Linked DNA regions of Homo sapiens: regions 1 and 2 are each linked to region 3. Evidence: promoter capture Hi-C in human tissues and cell types (Jung and others, 2019). All regions are on one chromosome and are shown on one strand. Each heading gives the region's core, a stretch centred on a gene start or on the middle of the fragment in contact. The rest is flanking DNA. Distances are from core to core; before and after follow the strand shown. Region 1 has its middle 96 kb from the start of SLC10A2. Region 2 has its middle 78 kb from the start of SLC10A2. Region 3 holds the start of SLC10A2 (solute carrier family 10 member 2).

What was found. Contacts are between HindIII fragments. The study calls those that stand out against the background at their distance.
Region 1: a contact is called between a fragment that was not itself captured here and the fragment with the promoter of SLC10A2 in region 3, in 3 of the 25 tissues and cell types used here (adrenal gland, lymphoblastoid cells and mesenchymal stem cells).
Region 2: a contact is called between a fragment that was not itself captured here and the fragment with the promoter of SLC10A2 in region 3, in 2 of the 25 tissues and cell types used here (H1 embryonic stem cells and dorsolateral prefrontal cortex).

What each region holds. Positions count from the first base shown.
Region 1 is chr13:102,968,731-102,972,095 of GRCh38, reverse strand. No RefSeq gene overlaps it. Among named protein-coding and RNA genes, the nearest start is that of SLC10A2, 96 kb to the left of the region's middle. RefSeq lists an enhancer at 1,193-1,392. The HindIII fragment of the contact is 3,080 bases long and covers 1-2,811 here.
Region 2 is chr13:102,986,475-102,989,750 of GRCh38, reverse strand. No RefSeq gene overlaps it. Among named protein-coding and RNA genes, the nearest start is that of SLC10A2, 78 kb to the left of the region's middle. The HindIII fragment of the contact is 3,278 bases long and covers 1-3,206 here.
Region 3 is chr13:103,064,899-103,067,907 of GRCh38, reverse strand. SLC10A2 (solute carrier family 10 member 2) reads left to right here and starts at 1,491. Exons shown (of 6, transcript NM_000452.3): 1 at 1,491-2,035. The coding sequence starts at 1,659. The HindIII fragment of the contact is 6,207 bases long and covers 1-2,685 here.

The DNA.
Region 1 (3,365 bases), core at 22-2,521, 96 kb after region 3:
CCATCAGAGCTTGGAGACAACGAAGGAAGCAGAGTAACACTGATCAAATCATTCCATAATCTCCAATGCATGAGCTCAGTTCCAACAATACTGTGACCTTCCGGGCTATTCTCCAAACTTTAAAATACTGCTACTCATCTACAAATGGAGATTCTAATACATACCTTCCAGGATTGTTGTGAGGATTAAATGAACGTGAAGCTTAGCACCAGGGCTGGCAGGCAAGAAAGGCTCAATGGATAAATGTTGCTGTTATTACTGTCGCATCTGTAATTTTTTTACTCTTTAGTACTTAGCAATAAATTGATTTTATGGTAAACATGTATATTTGGCCACAATCATTTTCTTCCATGCATCCAAAGCATACAAAAATTTATTATTTGGCAAAAAGTAAATAAATAAAGCTTTTATTTATTTATTTATTTTGAGATGGAGTCTCGCTCTGTCTCCCAGGCTGGAGGGTAGTGGCGTAATCTTCACTCACTGCAACCTCCCACTCCAGGGTTCAAGCGATTCTCCTGCTTCAGCCTCCTGAGAAGCTGGGATTACAGGCGCCCACCACCATGCCCAGCTAATTTTTGTGTTTTTAGTGGAGACGATTTCACCATGTTGGCCAGGCTGGTCTCAAACTCCTGACCTTGGGTGATCCGCCTGCCTCAGCCTCCCAAAGTGCTGGGATTACAGATGTGAGCCACCACACCCAGGCAAAATAAATCTTTTAATTCAGTGACTCTAAATAAGACCTCTCTCAAAGAGTATATGTTGAATGCCTCCTGCAATCCAGGCACTGTGCTAGGCTGAAAGATTAAAATCCCAGGTGATCCGGCCAGGCGCAGTGGCTCATGCCTGTAATCCTAGCACTTTGGGAGGCCGAGGCGGGTGGATCACCTGAGGTCAGGAGATCGAGACCAGCCTGGCCAACATGATGAAACCCTTTCTCTACTAAAAATACAAAAACTAGCTGGGGGTGGTGGGCGCCTGTAATCCCAGCTACTCGGGAGGCTGAGGTAGCAGAATCACTTGAAGCTGGGAGGCGGAAGTTGCAATGACCCGAGATTGCGCCATTGCACTCCAGCCATTTGGTACTGAGTCCAGCCATTGCACTCAGTACCAAAAAAAAAAAAAAAAAAAAAAAAAAAAAAATCCCAGGTTATCCAAGTCAGCATCAGTTGATGCAAGTTTTTCTGTGGCAATAGAAGGATGAATATTGAGTGATTCCACTTATGTGGGGGATCTGAAATAGTCAAACTCATAGAAACAGAAAGTAAAATGGCAGTTGCCAGAAACTACAAGAAAGGGAAACAGAGAGTTACTGTTCCACAAGTGTAAAGTTCCCACAGTTACAAAGGTGAACACCTGCTGCTCAGCAAGTATAAGCTCTAGAGATCTGCTACGCAATATTTCACCTATGTGTCAAGTGGGTCCATCTCATGTTAAGTGCTCTTTCTCACCAAGATGAAATAAGTAAATTGCTCTTAAAGATGACCTGTGGCTAAGGATGTTCTGAGACTGAAGAACAAGCAGCCTAGGCGAAGTCAACTCACAACTTCAGAGGCCTTGCCAGTCCAACTCTAGACAAAAATAAAAAAGTAAATAAATGAAGCTTTCAATTTAGCAAGACTAAGAAGGTCTCTCTCAAAATGATACAGGTGTACTCCAAGTAAATGTAGGCCAAACAGGAATGTAATAAGTCAATCACGGAGAACCTATCAGCAACTGAAAGTCAAGAAGATAAAAATATAAATTCACATAATGGAAAGAGAGCGTCAGGCAACACTAAGCAATTAGGACTGATGGTTATTCTATTGCCAAAGATCTCAAAAGATAAAAGCATGGTCTAGTCCTCGGTTTCCTCACAGAGGCCCAGATCTACTCACTTTTTTTCACCCATGCTGCTCCCAGTGTCTTTCAAAGCACGTTTGGCTCAAACATATACACATTTGCAAGCTTGCCAAGGCCTTCGAGTACACATGGATGTTCTAAATGATAAACCAGTGCCAGTATTAGCTTTAACTAACACTGAACGCTTTGGGAAAAGTAATGCATGACTAGCTTATGTGGTCTTTAATACTGTTTATTGTCTGCCCCTTTTTGACATCATTCCCTAAAAGAGCCCAATTTAATTCACAACAAAAAGTTGCTATGTGCCATACCAGGTTCTCCTTATAATTATTCATAACATTTTAGGATAATTTTTATGGCTTTTATGACTGCACTAGCCTTCTCAACCTCTCACTTTTACATTTTGAACATTGGCACAAATTTTAAATCTATTGAACCACCCATGGCTTCCCACAGCATTGCATTATAAGCATTATATTTTCGCTCTCTATCTTCCTTGTTTGAATCATCATTTGAATACATAGTATACATTTTTAAATTTCATCCTTTATCTGCATTATCGCTAACTTTTCATTTAGATCCTGCTTTTGTAAGTACTCAAAAAAATCCATAGTGCTATCACAGCAGGTGCTATTTATGAAATGTAAACATTACCAACAATGCAAAAATGAAATTTAATTGTGAGTTGTATGATTTTGTAAGTACCAGGCCAAAAGCTAGACACTTTACATGTATTATCTCATTTAATCTTTAGTAAAATCTTAAGAGACTCCAGTATCATCATCACACCCACTTTACAGAAGATAAACTGAGCTGGAAGACAGTAAGTAATCTGACAAGGTCACATAGCAAAGAGGAGACAAAACTCAGAATCCATCTGTCTAGCTCCAAAACCTAGACTCTTAAGCATTGCACCATGTGCAGAAAACATTATGTGCTCTTTTGTGCTTGCGCTTTTGTTCAAAATACTTTTCAATGTTGAAGTAGCCAAATAAAATCCACATACAATGGAATAAAGGCTTTGGCATTTTTAAGAACCTTTAAACTTTCATTTTTTTTCTTCTAATGTACCCCCTTGCTATTACCTGGTTTATTCAGTCACAGTTAGAATGCAATAAATGGAGTAACAACACAAACAATACTGAAATAGCACACGTAGCCTAGCAAAAATCCATAGGAAAACAGAGCAACGTGAAAGCAAAGTCCGAAGGCCCTCCCCTTGTATGGCCCTGCCTGCCCAGCACTCTGGCTTCCCGGCAATCAGCCACACACCGCAGAACTTTGTGTTTCCGCCCACAGTGGAAATTTCCATATCTAAAATGTTATTATGGGCTTCATAGAACAATCTGTGTAAGGTCATATTTGCATAAGTCAAGTGTTCCACAGTCTGTACAGCGTCTTTACCTAATGCAGGATTAAATTGCCATGGGGGGCTCTTATTAACCCTCCAGATTGCCCTAAATGCCAGCCAGCATTCACTTAAAGAAGAGTAGCTGGAATATGGAAGCAGCAAGGCGGGGACC
Region 2 (3,276 bases), core at 318-2,817, 78 kb after region 3:
CACTAAGAAAGTGAAATGACAAGCCACAGACTAGGATATCCTGAAAATCATACATACGGCAAAGAACTTTTATCCAGAATAAAGAACTCATGTCACTGAAATATAAGAAACCAGATATATATTTAGTCAAATAAGTAATGCTGAAATGAATTTATAAAAAGTGCAAGACTTAGCTGGGTGTGAGTGACTCTCATACCTGTAATCCCAGCCCTTTGAGAGACCAAGGTGGGGGGGATTGCTTGAGGCCAGGAGTTCAAGACCAGCCCGGGCAACATCACAAGACCCAATCTTTACAATGAAAATGAAAATAAAATTAGCCAGGCATGTTGTTAGGTGCCTGTAGTCCCAGCTACTCAAGAGGCTAAGGCAGGAGGATCACTTAAGCCCAAGAGTTTGAAGCTTCAGTGAGCTATGATCACCACTGAGTCCCATCCTAGGTGACAGAGTGAGACCCTATCTCTGAAAAAAAAGGAAAAAAAATTGCAAAACTGCCAATAGTCACAGGGACAATAATTAATTAATTAATTACACCAAACACAATTTGTATTTCTCTTGAAAGGAATTTTTTCTCCATCTTTATCAGGTTTCTATAAGTTAACTTTCATCTCCAAAGGTTTGTAAGACTCTTAGTAGTATGGTTTGGCTGTGTCCCCACCCAAATCTCACTTGAATTGTAGTTCCCATAATCCCCCCATGTGGTGGGAGGGAACTGGTGGGAGGTAATTGAATCGCGAGGGTGCTATTCTCATGATAGTAAGTTTTCACAAGATCTAGTGATTTTATAAGGGGCTACCCTTTGCTCATCTCTCACTTTTTTCCTTCCTGCCATCATGTGAAGAACATGTTTGCTTTTCCTACTGCCATGATTGTGAGTTTCCTGAGGCCTTACCAACTTTGTGGAACTGTGAGTCAATTAAACCTCCTTCCTTTATAAATTACCCAGCCTTGGGCAGTTCTTCATAGCAGCATGAAAATGGACTAATATAGTAAGTTGATACTGCAGAGAGTGGGGTGCTGCTATAAGGATACCTGAAAATGTGGAAGCAACTTTGGAACTGGGTAACAGGCAGAGGTTGGAACAGTTTGGAGGGCTCAGAAGAAGACAAGAAAATGTGGAAAAGTTGGAAGCTTCCTTGAGACTTGGAGAGTTCAGAAGACAGGAAGATGTCAGAAAGCTAGAAACTTTCTAGAGACTCGTTGAAAGGCTTTGACCAAAATGCTGATAGTAATATGGACAATGAAGTCCAGGCTGAAGTGGTCTCAGGTGGAGATGAGAAACTTGTTGGGAACTGGAGTAAAGGCCACGCTTGCTATGCTTTAACAAAGAGACTGGTGGCTTTTTGCCCCTGTCCTAGAGATCTGTGGAACTTTGAACTTGAAAGAGGTGATTTCGAATATCTGGTGGAATAAATTTCTAAGCAGCAAAACATTCAAGAGGTGACAGAGCAAACAAGTTTAGAAAATTTGCAGCTGATGCAGTAGAGAAGAAAAACCCATTTTCTGGGGAGAAATTCAAGCTGGCTGCATAAATTTGCAGAAGTAATGATGAGCCAAATGTTAATCACCAAGACAATGGGGAAAATGTCTCCAGGGTATGTCAGAGACCTTCACAGCAGCCCCTCCCGTCACAGGCCTGGAGGCCTAGGAGGGAAAAATGGTTTCCTGAGTCAGACCCAGAGCCCCCCTGCTCTGTGCAGCTTTGGGAATATGTGCAGCCTTGGGACATGGTGCCCTGAATCCCAGCTGCTTCGGCCCCAGCTGTAGCTCAGGTTATTGCTTCAGAGGGCGCAAACCCCAAGCCTTGGCAACTTCCACATGGTGTTTTATCTGCATGTGTGCAGAAGTCAAGAATTGAGATTTGGGAACCTCTGCCTAGATTTCAGCGGATACACAGAAATGCCTGGATGTCCAGGCAGAAGTCTGCTGCAGGGGCAGAGCCCTCATAGAGAACCTCTGCTAGGGCAGTGGGGAAAAGAAATGTAGGATTGGAGTCCCCTAACAGAGTCCCCACTGGGGCACTGCCTAGAGGAGTTGTGAGAAGAGGGCCACTGTCCTCCAGACTCCAGTATGGAAGATCCTCCAAGAGCTTGCACCATGCACCTGGAAAAGCCAAAGACACTCAACACTAGCCAATGAAAGCAGCCAGGAGGGAGGCTGTACCCTGCAAAGCCACAGGGGCAGAGCTTTCCAAGGTCACGGGAGCCCCCCTCTTGCATCAGCGTGACCTGGATGTGAGTCATGGAGTCAAAGGAGATCATTTTGGAACTTTAAGGTTTAATGACTGCCCTATTGGATTTTGGATTTGCATCAGACCTGTAGCCCCTTTGTTTTGGCCAATTTCTCCCATCTGGAAAGGGTGTATTTACCCAATGCCTGTACCACCATTGTATCTAGGAAGTAACTAACTTCCTTTTGATTTTACAGGCTCATAGGCAGAAGGGACCTGTCTTGTCTCAGCTGAGATTTTGGACTTGGACTTTGGGTTAATGCTAGAATAAGCTAAGACTTTGGGGGACCGTTGGAAAGGCATGATTGTGTTTTGAAATGTGAGGGCATGAGATTTGGGAGGGGCCAGGGACGGTATGATATGGTTTGGCTGTGTGCCCACTCAAATCTCATCTTGAATTATAGTTCCCATAATCCCCACATGTGGTAGGAGGCAACTGGTGGGAGATAAATGAATCATGGAGGCAGTTTCCCTCATGCTATACTCATGATAGTAAGCTCTCAGAAGATTTGATGGCTTTATAAGGGACTTCCCCCTTCATTCATCTTTCATTCTTTTCCTTCCTGCCAAGTGAAGAAGGATGTGTTTGCTTCCTCTTCTGCCATGACTGTAAGTTTCCTGAGGCCTCCCCCGCCCTGCACAACTGTCAGTCAATTAAACCTCTTTCCTTTATAAATTACTCAGTCTCAGGCAGTTCTTTACAGCAGTGTGAGAGCAGACTAACACACTTAGCCAAAGGCAAATACAAGCAGAGAAACTCAGATGGAGAGTAGACCAAGACACCCGCTAAATTTCAAAGTCTCTTACAATCTTTTATACAACCTTATGAGACTCTTATGGCAAAAATATTACTTAAACATTGAATATGTCCAAAGGAAATTTACTTGTTGTTGAACATTTTCCCAAGGTTTTCTCAATATTAAAAAATGCCCATTGTGGTAGGTTGGATAAAGAAAATGTGGTACATACACACCATGGAATACTATGCAGCCATTAAAAAAGAATGAGATCATGTTCTTTGCAGGAACACAGTTGGAGATGGAGGCCAT
Region 3 (3,009 bases), core at 242-2,741:
TGCTATTCTGAAGCCATGATACTAAAAGTGTGACCCCAGATCAGTGTCATCGCCATCAACTACAAGCTTGCTAGAAAGAAAACTCTCCCTAGACTTCCAGAATCAGAATTTGCATTTTAACAAGGCCCCCAGGGGAATCCTGTTCACACTGAGTTTTGAGAAGCTCTGTTCTAAGATATTACTCCAATCCCCAGCAAGCCAAACCGACCACTTTCTTCACATAATCAGAACGCTCGGTTCCAGTATTTCCAGATACCAGCCATAGGAAAACACGTTGTTCTCTCATTTCCCTTTAACCTTATCTAAAGCACTCAATTTCCTCAACCCTTAAGTCGTCATCTGTAAAATGGGAGTGCTAATCCTACTTAATTTAAGATGATTAAGTTGAATAATAAATTAGAATTTGTCCTACAAATTGTGAATCATGATCGGAATATTCAATTTTATTATTACTCTGTGTCCTAACTCAATAACTGGGTTATAAACTCCTGAAAACAGGACAATCTCTTCTCTACCTCTTTCTTTATCTTCCCTGTATACTGAAATACAGCGTTCTGCCCAGCATGAGGTCGACTATTTGACATTTACAAAAATCTCTCTTGGAATCCCCCTGCCAAAAAAAAAAAAATCGAATTTCAATTTATGACTCCAAGCACAAAGAGATCCTGTCACTTTGACCTAATTCTCTGAGGTTCATCCCTCTAAATAATTGTATTGTCTCCATCTATAAAGTACTCTGTTACTATGACAACGCACACATAATTGCATGTGTAAGTAGTTGAGGGTGGCTGTGCAAGTCAGACTCCTTTCCACCAGGAAACACAGAAAACATTCTATCTTCCCAAATGTTACTCTCTCAGATTTGCACCAAGACCCTAGAAGTTTCTTAAATTTCCATATACTTTATGGACACTACAAAGCAATTCCAGGAAACACTGATACAGTAGCAAAACTACTGGGAGTGGAAATTGGATGGAGATCTGGGTCCCAGTTCAGAGTCTGACACCTGATTTGCAACATAATTAGGCACAGGGCACTCAACTATTCAGGGCCCTAAACCCTTCTATTGAAAGGGAAATGGGAGAACAATATGTGTTCCTATGGCTCAGTCCCTATAAGATTCTGTACTATTCAGAGTTGATTTTAAGTGTCACTTAACTGAAATTATCCAACAAACCTTCATGGCATGAAACATTAACACAGCTCTTTTTATATGGCATGGTTCCTATGGCTCAATCCCTATAAGATTCTGTACTATTCAGAGTTGATTTTAAAAGTCACTTAACTGAAATTATCCAACAAACCCTCGAGGACATTAAACATTAACGTGGCTCTTTTTATATGGCATGGTTCATTATCATGCCAATAAATGATTAATCGTAACTCTCTGTCTTGACCAATAATTTTGCTGGACTTTTGTGATTCACAACGTGCTCTGTGTTGTAATGCTACCTCTTGAAACTGACATCCTAGCTTTATTGTTTTTTATTACTTCCCTAAGGTGGCTTTCAAAAGAGACACCAAGTGACATATTTTTAGGAGGGGTTTAAAAGTTTGATGGGGTAGAAGTAAACGTTGCTTAACTCAACCAGCAGCAGAGCCAGGGCCCAGGGACCAGCGCTTCTGTGGACTTGGCCTTTCCAGCAGCAGACCCAGCAATGAATGATCCGAACAGCTGTGTGGACAATGCAACAGTTTGCTCTGGTGCATCCTGTGTGGTACCTGAGAGCAATTTCAATAACATCCTAAGTGTGGTCCTAAGTACGGTGCTGACCATCCTGTTGGCCTTGGTGATGTTCTCCATGGGATGCAACGTGGAAATCAAGAAATTTCTAGGGCACATAAAGCGGCCGTGGGGCATTTGTGTTGGCTTCCTCTGTCAGTTTGGAATCATGCCCCTCACAGGATTCATCCTGTCGGTGGCCTTTGACATCCTCCCGCTCCAGGCCGTAGTGGTGCTCATTATAGGATGCTGCCCTGGAGGAACTGCCTCCAATATCTTGGCCTATTGGGTCGATGGCGACATGGACCTGAGGTAAGATTATCTATACCTCTAACTACTGCAATCACCTTGGAGTAATCCTTCCAGAAGCCTATGGCATTCTGAATGTCCAACTGATTTGCCACGCATCTAAAGTATGACTAAGGAATCAAACAGGAGAGAATAAATGCATTCCCGTGCCTTCTAGCACAGCTGCTTAGCTATTGGAATTGGGGGATTTATATTTTGTGTTTGTGTTTTTAAATCTAACTCAGTTAACAGGGAGTTGCATAATTGCTGTTGATCTCTAGGAAAAGATTCAAAGCTTTTTTAAAAAAGTAATCTTTTCCAAACCACAAGCTGCAGCTGAGGAGGTTTATCCTGTTGGTAGCAGGAAAAAAAAAGCAAAATACACTTTCTTTGTAATGATGAGGAGCTCTGGGTGCAATCATAAAATAAAACTGTTTGTCAAACATTAGAACCTGTAGTGAGACAGTGGTCAACTCCATCAAATATAGCCAGTTCTTTGGGCAAACATTTTCCTGGTATAAAACCTAAGGAAGAATTTGTAAATTTGCTTCACCTCTACTGGCATTAAAAGTGGGGGAAAAAGCCTATAGCAGCTTTTTTAAAATTATGCTTACCTTACTACAAAATAAACAGAAAACGTTTTCTCCACTTCCTACAGAGTAATCTAAATTGCAATGTTTGCCCATTTCATCCCGTGCCAGTCTGAACTAGCACTGGAAAAAAAAACTAATAGAAATAAGATGAAGCATTAATGTGACTAGATTGAGAAATTTAATGCTAAAAGTTGAATAGACAAATGTCTTTTTCCTTAGCTCACAATTCCTCATTTCCCTTGAAAGGTATGCATTTCCTTCTGCAAACCATCCAGGTGCTAATGCAACGTGTGCTTATTAAATACTGTACAGTAGGCAATTAGCTCTGTTCATCCCCAGCTACTATTGGCAGAGGAGAGAAGCACAAAGTGTAGAATTGTAAACACTGGATTGATAGAGTACCCA